2 separate regions of the Homo sapiens genome follow, and region 2 is linked to region 1. The links are contacts of gene promoters, found by promoter capture Hi-C in blood cells and fetal thymus (Javierre and others, 2016). All regions are on one chromosome and are shown on one strand. Each heading gives the region's core, a stretch centred on a gene start or on the middle of the fragment in contact. The rest is flanking DNA. Distances are from core to core; before and after follow the strand shown. Region 1 holds the start of COL28A1 (collagen type XXVIII alpha 1 chain). Region 2 overlaps LOC107986764 (a long non-coding RNA gene).

The links. Contacts are between HindIII fragments. The CHiCAGO score rates a contact against its expected background, and 5 or more counts as called.
Region 2: a contact is called between a fragment that was not itself captured here and the fragment with the promoter of COL28A1 in region 1, in 1 of 17 cell types (total B cells). The highest score is 5.0, in total B cells.

The regions. Positions count from the first base shown.
Region 1 is chr7:7,533,220-7,538,158 of GRCh38, reverse strand. COL28A1 (collagen type XXVIII alpha 1 chain) reads left to right here and starts at 2,286. Exons shown (of 35, transcript NM_001037763.3): 1 at 2,286-2,409. The HindIII fragment of the contact is 1,663 bases long and covers 852-2,514 here.
Region 2 is chr7:7,301,130-7,306,068 of GRCh38, reverse strand. All of the region lies in intron 1 of LOC107986764 (a long non-coding RNA gene), which reads right to left. Among named protein-coding and RNA genes, the nearest start is that of LINC03016, 48 kb to the right of the region's middle. The HindIII fragment of the contact is 2,270 bases long and covers 1,645-3,914 here.

The DNA.
Region 1 (4,939 bases), core at 1,037-3,536:
GATTTTATTTTGCATAATCTTCCCAATTAATTTAGTGCTGATTTTCACGCTTGAGAATGAGAGGTGGCAAATCTTTGGTTTGAGTTACCCTATTTAATGTTGGAGAATGAAAGGGAATGGATGACTAAGTTGGACTCCAACCTCCCACCAACTTTAATCAAAACAGCTCCAAGGCAGGAGGGCTTTAGTCCATTTCCCCCATCTAGGAATCACCTGTTTGCTTCTTAGTGGCATTATTATTCTGCATGTTTTTAACCTGCCTCAGCAAAAAGAGAGTTGACCTGAAAAGATGCTACTTCCTTGTCTCTTGATTCTCATCTTACAAAAGTAAAAAGTGTGACTAACACCCATAGGCTATCAGGTAAATACATGGTTGTTCCCTAGGAAATTCCGTTGTTATTTCTGCATTATACCCACCGTTTCTTCTTTCTGTTACCAAAGCCTCACAAAACTTCCTCAGTTCCTCGAAACCTGTTTTGTGAGGAGGAGACAGTGAAAACACAGACGTTCGCATAGATACTTAATGATGCAGTAGTTGTTATAAGTGAGGCTCACAGGTCTTACCAGCCTGAGTTAAAAGTTCATTTTGCCATTCTCTGGTTTTAGTATGACAGCGGACAAGTTACTGAACCTCTCTCTGCCTCCATCTTGGAAAAATTCGAATTCTTACAACATCTACTAAGTACAAGGGGTCCTGGAATAATATTTTGTTCAATGTCATTTTGTTATAACATTGATGAGAAAAAAAATTCAATTCCTGGGCCAGGCTCACTGTGTGGAGTTGACATGTTTTCCCCATGTCTGTGTGGGTTTTCTCCAGGTCCTGGAGTTTCCTCCCACATCCCAAAGCTTTGCCCATTAGATGCATTGGTGTGTCTACATGGTGCCTGTCTGAGAGAGTGGGTGGGTGTATGAGTGCCCTTTGACAGTACTGCATCCTGTCCAGGGCTGGTTCCTGCCTTGTATCCTCAGCTGCTGGGACAGGATCTGGTCAACCGTGACCCTGAACTGGAATATGCAGGTAAGCAGTTATCTTGTTTTTATCAATCTTTCATAAATGTATATATAGCTTAGATTTATTTCAATGTTTATTATTAGAGGTGTTTTGAGTATTTAGAGGTTTAGTGATGTTTTTGTGACTAGGAATATGCCATAAGAGCTTAACTCTTATTTATATCAATTAGCTCTTGGGAAAATTGTCTTCATTATCAATTGTTTCACTTTATGTCACAGTTTCCAGAACCTACAGAGGACATTAAGTGAGGACTTACTGTATATAGGTGGTTGTGCTTGTGAAGGATTAAATGAGGTAATGTGTGTGAAGCACTCAGGACAGTGCCTAGCACCTGGTAAGTGTCCATGAATTGGAGGCTATTATTGCTGTAATAAGGAAATTCATACACATTAAAATGGCTAAGAAAGTTCATTTTAAATAACCGTAACATGCACATTTGTATTGCTTTCTCGGATGATCTTGCTATTCTCTATTTCAGAGGAAGTCCGTGGAGAAGCCTGCCTGTTAGCTGTCTAGGGGTCAGGTGGCTTCTTGGCAGTATATATTACATGATAAACATTGACTTAATATGGACCATAACCACAAGGTAGAAAATAGGGAAACAGGGAGTGGAAAAACCACAGTGATCCTTTCCTAGAGAGAGACCAAAATATTAACCGCTGTAAACCTCTCATGTTACAGTTCGAACACATCTTAATAAATGATTAAATCTACTCTCTCATTTCATAAGTGGGGAACTGAAGCCCCCATAAAAGTTAGGGGCAGAACTATGACTATACTCAGACCACTCTTTCCCTGTATATTATATATACCTTTTATTATAAAAAATTTCAAAAATCACAGAAATACAAAGACTAGAACAATGCACACCTATGTACTCATCATCCAGCTTTAATAACAATCAAACTGTTACCTCTCTTAAAAAAACAGCTTTGATTCTGAGTCTGGTGTCATTTATACTCCTTCACAGAGATGTTCAGAACCAGTATCTTAGAGCACATCCCCCAGGCAAAGAAATGTAGCAATAAAAAGAGAAGGACATAGCATGAGAAAAAAAGGCAGGCTGTCAACCAATGCCTAAAATGTAGAAAGTTCTCTCAAGTTGTTTTTACAATAGTCTGGAAAACACAGTCTCATTCTGAAAGGACACTGTTCCTTTAAATTGCTTACTGATCCCACCCAGATCTTGCACCCTGGCCAAATGCCTGACCACTCTTGCTTTGACTTAGTCGAATAAACATGAACAAAAGACTGCAAAAGATCCTAAAGCAAAGACACTTTTATTTCCCACAGAACAGAACAATATCAAATAGCTAACTTCACCCCCAACCACAGTCCTTGCTGTTGGCATTTACTCAACTAGTCTTTAATTCCTGTTTGACAAACTTTATAAGGTAAGACATAACAGATTTATTTTAGTCACTTGAAATCAGATAGGACCATCAAGGAACTGTGGAAGACTAAATGACTTACTTACATAATTATTAGGTGAGAAAGCTTGTCAATAGTTTGTATTCTCTGCAATTACTTCAAATCAATTATTAGAAAAATATTAACATTGTTAAAATGTAGAAATTTAAAACTTAAAATTATTTTGAAATGGATTTTTAATTTACAGTCTTCTAAATTGTTTTACAACGATGTTAATATATTTTAGGACATCTTTTTCTTAATTTGGAACAGGGTTTACAATTCAGAATTAGTTATAGAATACTTTACAACTTGGCTAATTTGTCAATTTGAATAAAGTCTTTATTCAATCATTTTCTATTTGTGTAGAAACTGAGATGCAAACATTGTAACTAAAGTTGGTGAACTCTGATATAAGATCATTTTATTTTTGAAAAATTATAAAAAATAAAGTATCTTGGATTTATTTACTGATCCTGATATTTACCCCAAATAAATTTTAGGCCAAAAGTAAAACTACGGTATTTGATTAATAATTATGATTGTTTCTGCATTTATAAAATGTAACCTATAGTAAACACAGAGGTTCACATTTCTTTCACTTAACTAATGGCACTGTTTCCTCTGAAACCTATTTTGCTTGTACGTGACATCAGAAAGAGAGAAAGGTGAGAATTATTAAAAACAGAGGCAAAATAAAACATGGTAAAAAGTGATTAGAAATGAGTGGGCTCTCAAGATGCCAAATTAATAAACGAGAAAGATATTTCAGGGAAGCAGTAGAACTAACAAGCTAGAGAAACAAATCTAGAGAGGTATGAAAATGTCCTCTGGCTACAATAGGGAAACAGAAAGAAATAACAAGACTTTGGTTTGGGAGAGCTAGATTAACAATGTCAGAGCAAATAAGAACAAAATATGAGATACTGGGATTATTGTCAATGGAAAAGTTATGTTTGTGAATATCATATATACAGGGATCAGGTACAAATTCATGATTATATGCCAAGAAAACAGTAAGAGCAGGTGCTTAGTTTTGGGAAAAGATAAATCTTTATTTAAAGCCAGTATTTCTAAAACCTTACATGAAGGGTTTTGAAGAGTTGCTTGATTATGTTGCTTATAAAATCTTGCTCAGTTCTCAATGGAATTCAGTTCTCAGCCTCTTATTTCCAGAACTTCTGAGATGTTCCTTATGGTATGAACTCAACCAAAGAGAAAAGTCATATGTAATACCATGGCCATGGTGTTATTCCCTTTCCCCTTTGAAAATGCAATAACAACTGTGTTTTTCACATAGCCTTATCTTTACACTAACCTTCAGACTTAAAGTTGTACATCATTTATTTTTTTCCTTGGTTAGCAAAGGGACAACTTGAGGAGAGATGGCCTTTGTGTGTTCTGTTTCCTTAGCACATTTCTTGGTTTTGTTTTGTTTTTAATACCCAGCTGTCTTTACATTTTAGTATACCTTGTCTGAGGATCAGTTGGCATTTGGCCAATTGCTACACAAGATGTTTGGTCATACCTATCCAAAGTTCTTTTAATACACTTCCAGCTGGATGATGCTATGTGAGGAGCAGACTGTGGCATGAAGCCATCCATTGGTCCTCTCCTAACCCAACAGTTTTGTTTCCCTTTGGGGTTTATCCATCTGGCATGTATGAAAAAAGTCAGTCTCCATCTCACTCCTCACTGCCTTTGCATATATTTCCACTCTCTACTCAGAGTCTGGAAAAATCGTGCTCATGATTTCCCAGATTCTTATCCCCTAAAGGCAAGGTGCCAAAGAAGGAAAATGTGATTCCTTTTCCAGAACTCCTGAAGTCAATAAAGTTTCAGCAGGCAAGCATTTTTAAGCCATACTAAGTATTGATTCGAAATAAGCTTTCTCGTTCCCATTCTCTTGGGTATACTGAGGCAGCAACACATGAGTCTTCTCCTCCCAGGGAAATCTGTCAGTTTAAGAGTCAGTTGGTGTGTAGCTAGGCATATTGACTGATGAAGATTGAGGATTTTAATACAGAATTAGATTTTTCGTTGTTAATCCACCCAGAAAAATAGTTTCACGGGGCTATTCAGAGGGGGTGCTTCTTGGCTTTAAGTCCCGTTTCTGTCCATTAGTTCTTTTAGCCATCACTGGAAGAAGAGTGTTGCTTTTAAGCAAATCTATTATTTTTGCTCTCATACTCTTTTGATTCATTGCATATGCAGCTTTGAACCCCTGGTGGAGACAAAGTTTCCAAAGCTAGGGTAGAAAAGAGAGATGGGGTTCTATGGAAACAGAAGGGTCGTTTAATTTTTACCTTGACCTCTGAACTCACTGAAGTTATGTGTGTAGTATTAAGCCTGAAAGGGTGGTGGTTGTCTACAGTTCTACAAAATACTAGATTTGTCAGGAATCAGTTATAATGAAAGTGAATGAAATGACCATATAGCAATCTGAATTCCCCCTGAAGAATTTGGAAATGTCAAAGCAGACCCTGTGATTGAACCACAGTAATCATATAGAGC
Region 2 (4,939 bases), core at 1,530-4,029, 230 kb after region 1:
CCTATGTGACCAAGTTCCCAGGCTGGCCTGACACCGAAAGATAAGCTGCATGTATTAATTTCCTAGGACTGATGTAACAAATGGCCACAAACTGGGGGGCTTAGAATGACAGAAATTTATTCTCTTAGAGTTCTGGAAGCCAGAAGTCTGAAATCGAGGTATTAGCAGGACCATCCTCTCTCAAAACATTCTAGGGAAGATTCTTTCCTTGCCTCTTTCAGTGTCTGGTGTTTGCCAACAATCATTCTTTTTCCTTGGCTTTTAAATGCGTCACTCCAATCTCTGTTTCTGCTGTCATGTGGCATTTTCCTTATGCATCTTTTTTTCTGTGTCAAAATTTGACCACTTCTTATAAGGACATCAGTTTTATTAGATTTAGGGCCCACTCTAATCTATCTAGTATGAACTGATCTTCATTATATCTGCAAATATTCTGTTTCCAAATAAGGTCACACATACAAGTACTGTGGGTTAGGACTTAAACATATCTTTTTGAAGGACGCAATTCAACCCCCAGCAGTGGGTCAATCAAAGTTTTTTCTTGGAAATGGGAACTAAGAAACACACAGAGAACTAATCAGTTGGTGAGTGGAGTTCAAAGTAAAACAAAGCAGCGTACTGGAATCAGGGCCAGGGCCACTGAAAGCCATGTTCAAGCAGGAGTTATCTGAGCACAGAAGAGATGCAGGGGGCAGCCTTGGAAGCTGGAGGAGAGAGAGAGAGAGGAGACCAACGCAGTGACAGAGAGGGAGATACAGCCATAGATGCTGAGGATGGTTCCTGAAGTTGCGCCACACTCTCTGACTTTCTACCTCCAGTTTCTGTCTAGCTATATATTAACCCCCCTCTTAAGATAAGTGCTTTAGAAATTTGTTCCTCGTGACTACATGAGCTAAGATAAAAGAGTCCAAGGAGACTCTTCTTTTTAGAAGTAAGGAAATGAAGGCCCTGAGAATGCAGTGACTCCAATTCAGTGTTCTACCTCCCGGTGTGGCCATCTTCCATGAGTGTCAGTTCCTCCTGACCACTGGATTCCAAGGAAAGCCTGACTGCCAGGCAATGAGAAGGGTTTACATTAGCACCTCCATGAAAGAGTAATAATTACCCACAGGCCACTAGGCACATGCCTAGGCCTGCTAGGAGGCACAGAGTGGTACAATAGCTACCTTTCTTCTGTGATTCCTGGATTCCAGGCCGAATCCTAAGTAGACATGCAGGTTAGGATATGATGATTGCTGTTTACCTACACCATCAATCTCACATACGTGTAGAAGGGAAGCTGGCACGGGACCTGGGATAGGCCAAATGACTTAGTCAAGAACTGCCCTTTTCACTTTTTAGACTAGGATTCCCCAGAGTCTGTCTCTCCCCAAGCTGGCATAGAACAGATCATTTAATAATTTTCCGCTACTAGTGGAAATCCAATGATCAGAGTCCCAGAAAAAAGGGGGCATGGGGATTTATTCTGGGATTATACTCTACCATCACCTGTTCCCCCCATTCTGCCATCTCTAAAAAAAAGTTTTGTGTAAGCATAAAATAATTTGTCCTTCTAGGGATAATACAATAGATGCTTACTAAGAACTTTCTTATAAAGTGCTCAACTGTGAATGAATGACTGAAAAATTAATTTTATTTTAAGCTTGAATACCAAGAAAGAGGAGAAATACAGTTTGGAAATCAGAGAAGTGGTTTCCAGTTCTGTTGCTCTGCTTAACTGTGGATCCCCAAGAAAAGTTTTGATCTGACAAGTGAGAATGTGGAAGTAGGAATTGCAGCTACCACTCGGACGGACAGAGCAGCATGTGGAGGCTCGCGTTGTTGAACTTCTGCTCCAGAATGACTGCAGGAATAAATCGGGAAAGCTGAGAGAACCCACAGACCCTCTGAAGGAAGCGAATTGCTCCTGCAGGACCCGGGAGACACCCCAAATACTGTGAGTGCCCAAACTGTGAAAGTAGGAAAGGGGAATCATCTGCTCCGAACACACACCCTCACTGGGAAACCTGAAAGTCTAGGTCACGGGAGAAGATTCTGACCTTACCCGGAGCTGAGTCAATTTAGAGAGCTGAGCAAAATACAGGCGTAGAAGAAGCAGCGGGAAAAGCCCTGTGGGCTCGCTTGGTGCCCTAGCAAGTCGTTTCTGCCTTGCCTCACAGGGGTCCTTGAGGCAGGCTGCCAGAGGCACTGGGAAAAGGGAACAGGAAGAAGGAAACCTCCAGCTGAACTTTGTAACAATTTGAAGCCATTGAGAAGTCTTCTGGCCAGAACCTGGGGGAGGGTATGAATCCGGTGTGCAGAATTCACAGGTAGGGGAAGCACAAAAGCCCTACTTGCTTTTGCAGCTGGGAGGCAGGTATCCTGGGGCAAGTTCTCAGCCCTGCTTGCCCATTGCTTGGAAACAGACTTGTTGCTATTGGGGGTGGGGGGCAGGCACATGGTGGGAGTGAGACTAGCCCTTTGGGTTGAGTGGGAGCTAGGTGAGGCCTGTGACTGCCAGCTTTCCCCCACTTTCCTGACAACCTGCATGACACAGTAGAGGCAGCCACGCCTAGCCCTGCGCCCACCTAATGGTCCTTCCCTACACACCCTGGTAGCTGAAGACAAAGGGCATATACTCTTGGGAGTTCTAGGACGGCACCCACCACCTGTTCCTCCCCATACTATCATGGCTGATGCTGTCTTGAAAGCACTACCTCCCAGCAGGAGGCCAACCAGAACAAAAATGGTGCATTAAGCAACCAAAGTTAAGGACCCTCACAGAGTCCATTTCACTCCCTTGCCACTTCCACCAGAGAAGGTGCTGGTATCCACGGCTGAGAGACCCACAGACGATTCACATCACAGGATTCTGTGCAGACAAACTTCAGTACCAGCCCAGAGCCTGGTGAACTTGCTGGGTGGCTAGGTCCAGAAGAGACATAACAATCAGTACAGCTCAGCTCTCAGGAAGCCACATCCTTAAGAAAAGGAGGAGAGTACTACATCATGGGAACACCCCATGGGACAAAAAAATCTGAACAACAGCCTTGAGCCCCAGATCTTCCCTCTGACAGAGGCTACCCAAATGAGAAAGAACCAGAAAACGAATTCTGGTAATGTGACAAAACAAGCATCTTTAACACCCCCAAAAAGTCACACTAGCTCACTGGCAATGGATTCAAACCAAGAAGAAATTCCTGATTTACCTGAAAAAGGAGGTTAGTTATTGAACTAATCAGGGAGGCACCAGGGAAAGGCAAAGCCCAATTTAAGGAAGTCAAAAAAATGATACAAGACATGAGGAGAGAAATTTTCAATTAAATAGATAGCATAAATAAAAAACAATCAAAACCTCAGGAAACAATGGATGGACTTATAGAAATGCAAAATGCCCTGGAAGGTCTTAGCACTAGAATCAAACAAGCAGAATAAAGAACTTCAGAGCTTGAAGACAAGGTCTCTAAATTAACCCAATCCAACAAAGAAAAAAAAATTAGAAAATATGAACAAAGCCTCCAAGAAGTCTGGGATTATGTTAAATGACCAAACCTAAGAATAATCAGCATTCTTGAGGAAGAAGAGAAATCTAAAATTTGGAAAACATATTTGGGGGAATAATCAAGAAAAACTTCCCAGGCCTTGCTAGAGACCTAGTTATCCAAATATAAGAAGCTCAAAGAACACCTGGGAAATTCATCACAAAAAAGTAATCACCTAGGCACAATGTCATCAGGTTACTTAACGTTGAGACGAAGGAAAGAATCTTAACAGCTATGAGGCAAAATCACCAGGTAACTTATAAAGGAAAATCGATCAGATTAACAGCAGAGTTCTCAGCGGAAACCCTACAAAAAGGGATTGGGGCCTTATCTTCAGCCTCTTTAAACAAAACAATTATCAGCAAAGAATTTTGTATTCAGTGAAACTAAGCTTTGTAAATGAAGGAAAGATACAGTCAAACAAATGCTGAGAGAATTGGCCAGTACCAATCCAGCACTATAAGAACTGCCAAAAGGAGCTCTAAATCTTGAAATAAATTCTGGAAACACATCAAAACAGAACCTCTTTAAAGCACAAATTTCACAGGACCTATAAAACAAGAATACAATTTTTAAAAAACCAAGTTATACAGGCAACAAACACCATGGTGAATAGAATGGTACCTCACATCTCAATACTAACATTGAATGTAAATGCCCTAAATGCTCCACTTAAAAGATACAGAATGGCAAAATGGATAAGAATTCACCAACCATCTGCTGCCTCCAAAAGACTCACCTAACACATAAGGACGCTCATAAACTTAAAGTAAAGGGACTGGACGTGGGCAAGATGGCCGAATAGGAACAGTTCTGGTCTGCAGCTCCCAGTGAGATCAATGCAGAAGGTGGGTAATTTGTGCATTTACAACTGAGGTACCTGATTCATCTCATTGGGACTGGTTAGACAGTGGGTGCAGCCCACAGATGGTAAGCAGCAGGGTGGGGTGTTGCCTCACCTGGGAAGTAGAAGGGGTCGAGGAACTCCTTCCCCTAGCTAAGGGAAGCTGTGAGGGACTATGCCATGAGGAACAGTGCACTCTGGCCCAGATACTACACTTTTCCCACGGTCTTCACAACCCGCAGACCAGGAGATTCCCTTGGGTGCCTATGCCACCAGGGCCCTGGGTTTCAAGCACAAAACTGTGTGGCCATTTGGGCAGACACCAAGCTAGCCGAAGGAGTTTTTTTTCATACCCCAGTGGCATCTGGAATGCCAGTGAGACAGAAGTGTACACTCTCATCGAAAGGGGGCTGTAGCCAGGGAGCCAAGTGGTCTTGCTCAGTGGATCCCACCCCCACAGAGCCCAGCAAGCTAAGATCCACTGGCCTGAAATTATCGCTGCCAGCACAGAAGTCTGAAGTCAACCTGGGATGCTTGAGCTTGGTGTGGGGAGGGGCATCCACCATTACTGAGG